2 separate regions of the Homo sapiens genome follow, and region 1 is linked to region 2. Evidence: promoter capture Hi-C in human tissues and cell types (Jung and others, 2019). All regions are on one chromosome and are shown on one strand. The core of a region is centred on a gene start or on the middle of the fragment in contact, and the rest is flanking DNA. Distances in the headings are between cores, read along the strand shown. Region 1 has its middle 110 kb from the start of PRSS1. Region 2 holds the start of TRPV6 (transient receptor potential cation channel subfamily V member 6).

What was found. The method cuts DNA at HindIII sites, captures the fragments that hold promoters and counts their contacts. A contact is called where the count stands out against the background at its distance.
Region 1: a fragment that was not itself captured here is called in contact with the fragment with the promoter of TRPV6 in region 2 in 1 of the 25 tissues and cell types used here (spleen).

The regions. Positions count from the first base shown.
Region 1 is chr7:142,635,477-142,638,983 of GRCh38, forward strand. It overlaps TRB and the pseudogene TRBV21-1. Among named protein-coding and RNA genes, the nearest start is that of PRSS1, 110 kb to the right of the region's middle. The HindIII fragment of the contact is 4,866 bases long and covers 1-3,507 here.
Region 2 is chr7:142,884,463-142,887,725 of GRCh38, forward strand. TRPV6 (transient receptor potential cation channel subfamily V member 6) reads right to left here and starts at 1,283. Exons shown (of 15, transcript NM_018646.6): 1 at 927-1,283. The coding sequence starts at 1,174. The HindIII fragment of the contact is 20,954 bases long and covers 1-3,263 here.

The DNA.
Region 1 (3,507 bases), core at 416-2,915, 250 kb before region 2:
GGTATTCATTTTATTGCTTCTATATATGCATTGCATATTTGTCATAAATATTGTTCTGTATAGTTCAACATTTCATTATTTAATGTAGCCGGGCACAGTGGCTCATGCCTGTAATCCCAACAGTTTGGGAGGCTGAGGTGGGCAGATCACTTGAGGTCAGGAATTAAAGACCAGCCAGTGACATGGTGAAAGCCTGTCTCTACTAAAAATACAAAAATTAGCCAGGTGCGGTGGTGGGGGCCTGTAATCCCAGCTACTCAGGAGGCTGAGGCAGGAGACTGCTTGAACCCGGGAGACAAAGGCTGCAGTGGGCTGAGATCATGCCACTGCACTCCAGCCTGGGAGACAGAGCAAGATCCGTCTCAAAAATAAATAAATAAATAAATAAATAAATAAATAAATAAATAAATAAATACTTACTTAATGTAAAGCAGCTGCTATGTGATTTTATAAGTGTGTCAAAAGCTACTATTTGTAAAGACCGAGTTGTATGATTCCTTACCTGAGATGGAAGGGAGGGGAAGAAGCAAACTGACAAGTTAAAAAAGTAAATAGAGTGTAAATTAGTTCAACCATTGTGGAAGACAGTGTGGAGATTTCTCAAGGATCTAGAACCAGAAATACCATTTGACCCAGCAATCCCATTACTGGGTATATACCCAAAGGATTATAAATCATTCTACTATAAAGAGACATGCACATACATGTTTATTGCACCACTGTTCACAATAGCAAAGACTTGGAACCAACCAAAATGCCCATCAATGATAGACTGGATAAAGAAAATGTGACACATATATTCCGTGGAATATTATGCAGCCATAAAAAAGGATGAGTTCATGTCCTTTGCAGGGACATAGATGAAGTTGGAAACCATCATTCTCAGCAATCTATCACAAGAACAGAAAACCAAACACCGCATGTTCTCCCTCATAAGTGGGAGCTGAACAATGAGAACACATGGACACAGGGAGGGGAACATCACACATGGGGCCTGTCGGGGGATGGAGGGCTAGGGGAGGGATAGCATTAGGAGAAATACCTAATGTAGATGATGGGTTGATAGGTGCAGCAAACCACCATGGCATGTGTATACTTATGTAACAAAAGTGCACATTCTGCACATGTACCCCAGAACTTAAAGTATAATAATTTTTTAAGTAAATAAATGTATGAGTGATTTTACTTAAAAAAAATAGCAAAACAGTGAGTAACAGAAAAAAAAAAAACTAAAAGCAGGCTGAAACTTACACTATTTTTAACAGCTAAAACAAAGTCTGCCCTCCTACATTCTTTGAAATTGAAATGACTCTGTCCCATGTACAGAGCATCTACAAAGGCTATGGAAAGTGATCACGTCACAAGGAGGTTGCTGACGGGGGCTAGGAGAGTGGGTGAAGAAGCCTTACAGAAAAAGCTACCACTACGATTTCTTTCTGAGCCAACCATGTGCCTCAGACTTCTCTGCTGTGTGGCCATTTCTTTCTGGGGAGCCAGGTAAGGCCCTGTTCTGAACTGGTTGAATTTCAGTTCCAAGACTCTCTCCGGTGGCTGCAGTATCAAGCTCCCTCCTGCGCTTTTTCTACAGCTGCTCTCTCCTTCCTCCACAGGCTCCACGGACACCAAGGTCACCCAGAGACCTAGACTTCTGGCCAAAGCAAGTGAACAGAAAGCAAAGATGGATTGTGTTCCTATAAAAGCACATAGTTATGTTTACTGGTATCGTAAGAAGCTGGAAGAAGAGCTCAAGTTTTTGGTTTACTTTCAGAACGAAGAACTTATTCAGAAAGCAGAAATAATCAATGAGCGATTTTTAGCCCAATGCTCCAAAAACTCATCCTGTACCTTGGAGATCCAGTCCACGGAGTCAGGGGACACAGCACTGTATTTCTGTGCCAGCAGCAAAGCCACAGTGCCGAATGTTAGCCCTTCTTAGAACACAAACTCATTATGGACCCAGCTCAGGAAATAAGTGTGTAGCAGGTTGGTAGGCACTACGTAACAGAAACCCAACTTGAAAGACAATAAATCAGAAGGAAAAACTTGTAAATAACAGCTCTAAGTGAGCAAAAAACAAAGGGGGGTTATTTAAAACAACTGATGGGGACAAAACCCCAGGGAAGGGGCCAGAAGGCATAAAAAGCTTGGATTCCTCAGTGTTCAGCATATTAGGTAAGATATGCTAGGTTACCCTCTCTCTCTCTCTACATGAGCTTTATGGATTTCTAACAATCTTTATTTAAAGAAGGGGATTCTGTGCTTTTCACTTGGTAAAGTTGTGGGTGCACAAATAAGAATGACAAGCGGATCAACTGTGTCTTTCAGGTAGACCCTGATCTTCTGACCCAGCACATTTCCTTGAACTAGAGACAGACTCTAAAGGGCTTTTTGACTGCTTCTCACAGCTCTCCCTGCCATAGAAGCCTAGTGGGAACCATTAGCAATTCCTGCCCTATGGAATGTTACAATCACAAATTTTTATTTTTATTTATTTATTTATATTTATTTTAATTTTTTTTTGAGACGGAGTCTCGCTCTGTCATCCAGGCTGGAGTGCAGTGGCGTGATCTCGGCTCACTACAAGTTCCGCCTCCTGGGTTCACGCCATTCTCCTGCCTCAGCCTCCCGAGTAGCTGGGACTACAGGCGCCCGCCACCACGCCCAGCTAATTTTTTGTATTTCTTTTAGTGGAGACGGTGTTTCACCGTGTTAGCCAGGATGGTCTCGATCTCCTGACCTCGTAATCCGCCTGCCTCGGCCTCCCAGAGTGCTGGGATTACAGGCATGAGCCACCACGCCTGGCCAACAATTACGAACATTTTTAAAGCAACTCTATTGAGACATAAGATATATATGGAATATGTATGCAATAAACAAATCCAACTGCTGCAATAAAACACACCCGCATTTTAAGTGTACACTTCAACAAATTTTAACACATTTTTATACCCATGATGTAACCATGATGACAATCAAGATACAAAACATTTTCATCGTCTCAGAAAGTCCCTCACATCTCTTTATTGAGGTCTTGTTAATTTCTCTCAGCATCGCTTTGTATTTTTTATTATACAGATCTTATATATATTTTCCTAAATTTTATTTTAACAAGATTATAAATGTACTCAATAAAAATATTTTCTGCCAAGATTTCACGTCAGCCTAATTCAATTTCGTCTTTACATTTTTCAATTGACATCTCTACCTCAGTATGTTACATAAAAATACCTTCTCCAGAAATTGCATATGGTTTGGAGCAACCATATGTGAGCTCACAGCGTCAGCCTCATTCACCATGTGAACCAATCAAGTGTCAGTGCTGCTCTGTTTCCAGGTAAAATATACTTATTTACATGTATTGGAAAAGCTGTGAAATTTCTGCAAGGTGTACTTTAAGAAGAGATACATTTTGTTAATGAAAACATACCTATGCGTTAAGATTAATTAAAGGGAATATTTTGCAGTTAAGCACATGATTTGGAATGAGGGGTTGCAGCCCTGCTGGTC
Region 2 (3,263 bases), core at 33-2,532:
TCCTTCTAGCATGCCACCAACTGGGTAGAGAACTCTATTAGAGACCTTGAAGAAGAGACCACATGCAGGGATAGCCCTGAGTTCCGATTCCCTGCTCCTCTCCTGCTCTGTACTCCAAGCTGTCATGGTGAAGAAAGCAGGACACGGGTTTAGGAAGTTTTCAGGGGCTGGAAGCCACCAGTGAATGTCCTTAGGGCTTAAACGCTAGAGTCTCGATTTCCACCACCTGAATGCGGAAGAGCACAGGTCCTCGGAACATCTGTTATTTTGACCCGCTTCCCCTCAGTCCCCACCCGCACTGAGAGAGAAATACACCTCAAGGTTGGGTTTGAGCGTTGTAGGTCTTCATATCCCCCCAGTGCTGGGCAAATAGTAAGGCCTTGGTCAGTGTCTGATGAGACAGATACATAGGAATGGTCACTTTTTTCACATTTTGTCTTATTTTCTGGTTCCTGGTGTCCGCGGTTCTCTCTGCTTCATTCATTCAATCGTTCACTCATTCCTCCATGCGAACATATGTATACTATGTGTTCCTGCCAGAGAGACTGTTCTAGAGGCAAGCAGTGGAGATACAGAAGGCATTGTCCTCACCTGCCGTCCCCTCTTGGGTGGAGGGGCTGTGATGCTCTATCCTTACAAGCCCCAGCAAGACGCCTGGCCCTTAGAGAAGTACTCACAAGAGGCTTGCAGAATCGAATTAGATCTTAAGATAGTGAACACCTGTGCCCATCTCAACCCCATCCTCTTTCACCAGCCCTACAGGCTGAGGCTCTTAAGACAGAATGCTCCCAAGGAGCCAGTCCGGGCCTGGGAGCACCATCTGTCCAGCCAAAGGTGCCAAACAAAGACGGGAGGTGAGGGAGGGGTGAGGGGTAGAGGTGCAGGCCTGGGGAGGTGGGGAAGGGAGCAGACCAAGGGGGCCTTACCTCTTCTGCTGCAGCAGGTTCTGCTCATCTCGGCTCTGGGCCCAGGACTCCCGTCTCTGGAACCATCTGCAGAACTTGCTCCATAGGCAGAGAATTAGCCCTTTCTCCTTGGGCAGTGACAAACCCATGGGGTGTAGGGCCGGCTCCTTGGGGGCCTGAGGCCGAGGCCAGACCCTGACGGGACTCAGCCTTGGGGCCACATCAGCCCCCCCAAGGGCCGGCCCACCGTCTCCCTGTAGAGGTCCCGTCTCCTGTCTCCTGCCTTCCTGACGAGTTCCTTGGGAGTCTCCCAGCAGCCCCAGCCAGTTTGGAGAGGGCTGTGAGTTTGTTACACTTGGCAGAGCCAGCCAGGACTCTGCAGGGCTGGCCTGTCTGGAGCTCCTGCTGGGAGTGAGCAGGAGGAGCCAAAGCTGCACGGACACGCCCTCCCTCCTCCCAAATTACCTGAGATTTAAAGACACAGGCCAGCCACAGACCTGCCTACCAAGGGGGACTTGTGCCAACTCCAATTCTTTCTCCACCCAGGGCTCTCTCCCTGCCCCCAGGCCAGTCACAACCAGGGAGGCCTTCAGAAAGACTGGCGAGGCCTCCCTTGGACGTCAGAACACCCAGTGACCTACCCTGAGAGACTCTAGGCAGTGAGAAAGGAGGGGAGGAGTCAGGGCAGGCCCATTCCCAATGTTGAGGACTCCCAGGAGGGAGCGCCCCACTTTCCCACAGTGCCTCTTCTGCCGACCACCTGCCTCACTCTCTGCCTCCCCCTGCTTATGTCCTGGAGAATTCCATTTTCTGGACTCTTCCAGTTTCATTCTTGCCAGGCCTGAAATAGGTATATAAATTGCGAAGATACTCAGTTCTCCCAGACTTTCCTCTCAGTCCCCATCACCTTTGGGTCAGCAAACTTTTTCTGGAAGGGCTGATAGGAAATGTAAAGATGTTAGGTTTTGCAAGCCATGTACACTCTCTAATGTACGTTATTCTTTGGTTTTGTTTTGGTGGTTGTTTTCTAACCACCCCCAAAGATGTAAAATGCATTCTTCGCTCACCAGCCAGGGCACAAAATCTAGCTCTGGGCAGACCCCCTGCTCAGGAGCTCCACAGACTGTCCACAATGCCCCGTGCATGGGGTGGGTGCCCGATAAAATACAGGACACGTGGTCAAATTTGAATTTTAGATAAACAACAAAGAATTTTTTAGTATAAATATACCCCACGTTTTGCAAGTATTCTATCTGCCAGCCTTCCCGTGGAGGTGACATTCAGCTGCTACTGTGTGCTGGGCCTTTTAACTGAGCGTTCCCAGGTAAACTCGTAACAAACCTGCAAGGCAGGTATTATTATCTACATTGTATTGATGGGAGAAACCAAAGCTCACCATGGTAAAGGAACTCTCCCAAGGCCATAGAGGTGGCAGAGGCAAGATTCACACCCATCCCTCATTCCAAGCCCACTTCTTTCTCCCTAGCACACCTCCTCATTCTAACTGGCCAACAGAGCTTCAGAGAGGTTAAGTGACTCGCACAGTCATACAGAAGAATGATGGCATTAAGCATGGCCCATCGTCTTCCCACAACAAAGAGCTCCATCATGAGCTTGCTGGAAGCTGTCGGAAAGGTCATTTAGTTCAACTTTTCCACTGGAAAGGGGCAGAAGCCCGGGCTTATCCAACCTCCTGGTGCCAGCCAGGTGCCAATAGCCTAGGGGCAGGTGTCTGGGTGTTCAGAGTCACAGGTGTGTGGATCACTTCCTAGCTTCAGAGTCTGTTTTGTCCTAACTTTCTCTGACTCAGAGTTGGAAGACCCAGCCAGGGGAGTGTGTGTGTGGCGTGTGTATGGCGTGTGTGCCCATGTGCATTTGTGTGTGGTGTTTATGCGTGTGTTCATGATGTGCATCGGTGGGGTGTTTTGTGTGTGGTATGCTGTATGTATATGATGTGCCTGTGGTGTGTTTGGTATGTGTCTACGTGTGTATGATATATGTGATATGTGTAGGTATGGCCTGTAGAGCGTGTGGATGTGGTGTCTGTGATGGTATGTGTGACATGTGTGTTGTGTATATACGTATTGTGGAAAGATTGTTGCATGTGTGTTGTGTGTATGGTGTGTAGTGGGTGATGTATATGGTACCTTTAAGGTATGTGTGCGTGTACATGATGTGTGTGTGTGTGTGTGGTGTATACATGATTTGTGTAGTGTATGGTGGGTTTACTATGTGTGTATGTATGGTGTGTGTTGTGTGTGTATGTATGTCATGGGGTGTGTGTCATATGTGCTGTGTGTGGGGGGAGTCGGTGTGTGGAGGGAGGTGGATGCTGAGGTAGGGCAGGGGAGAGAAGGA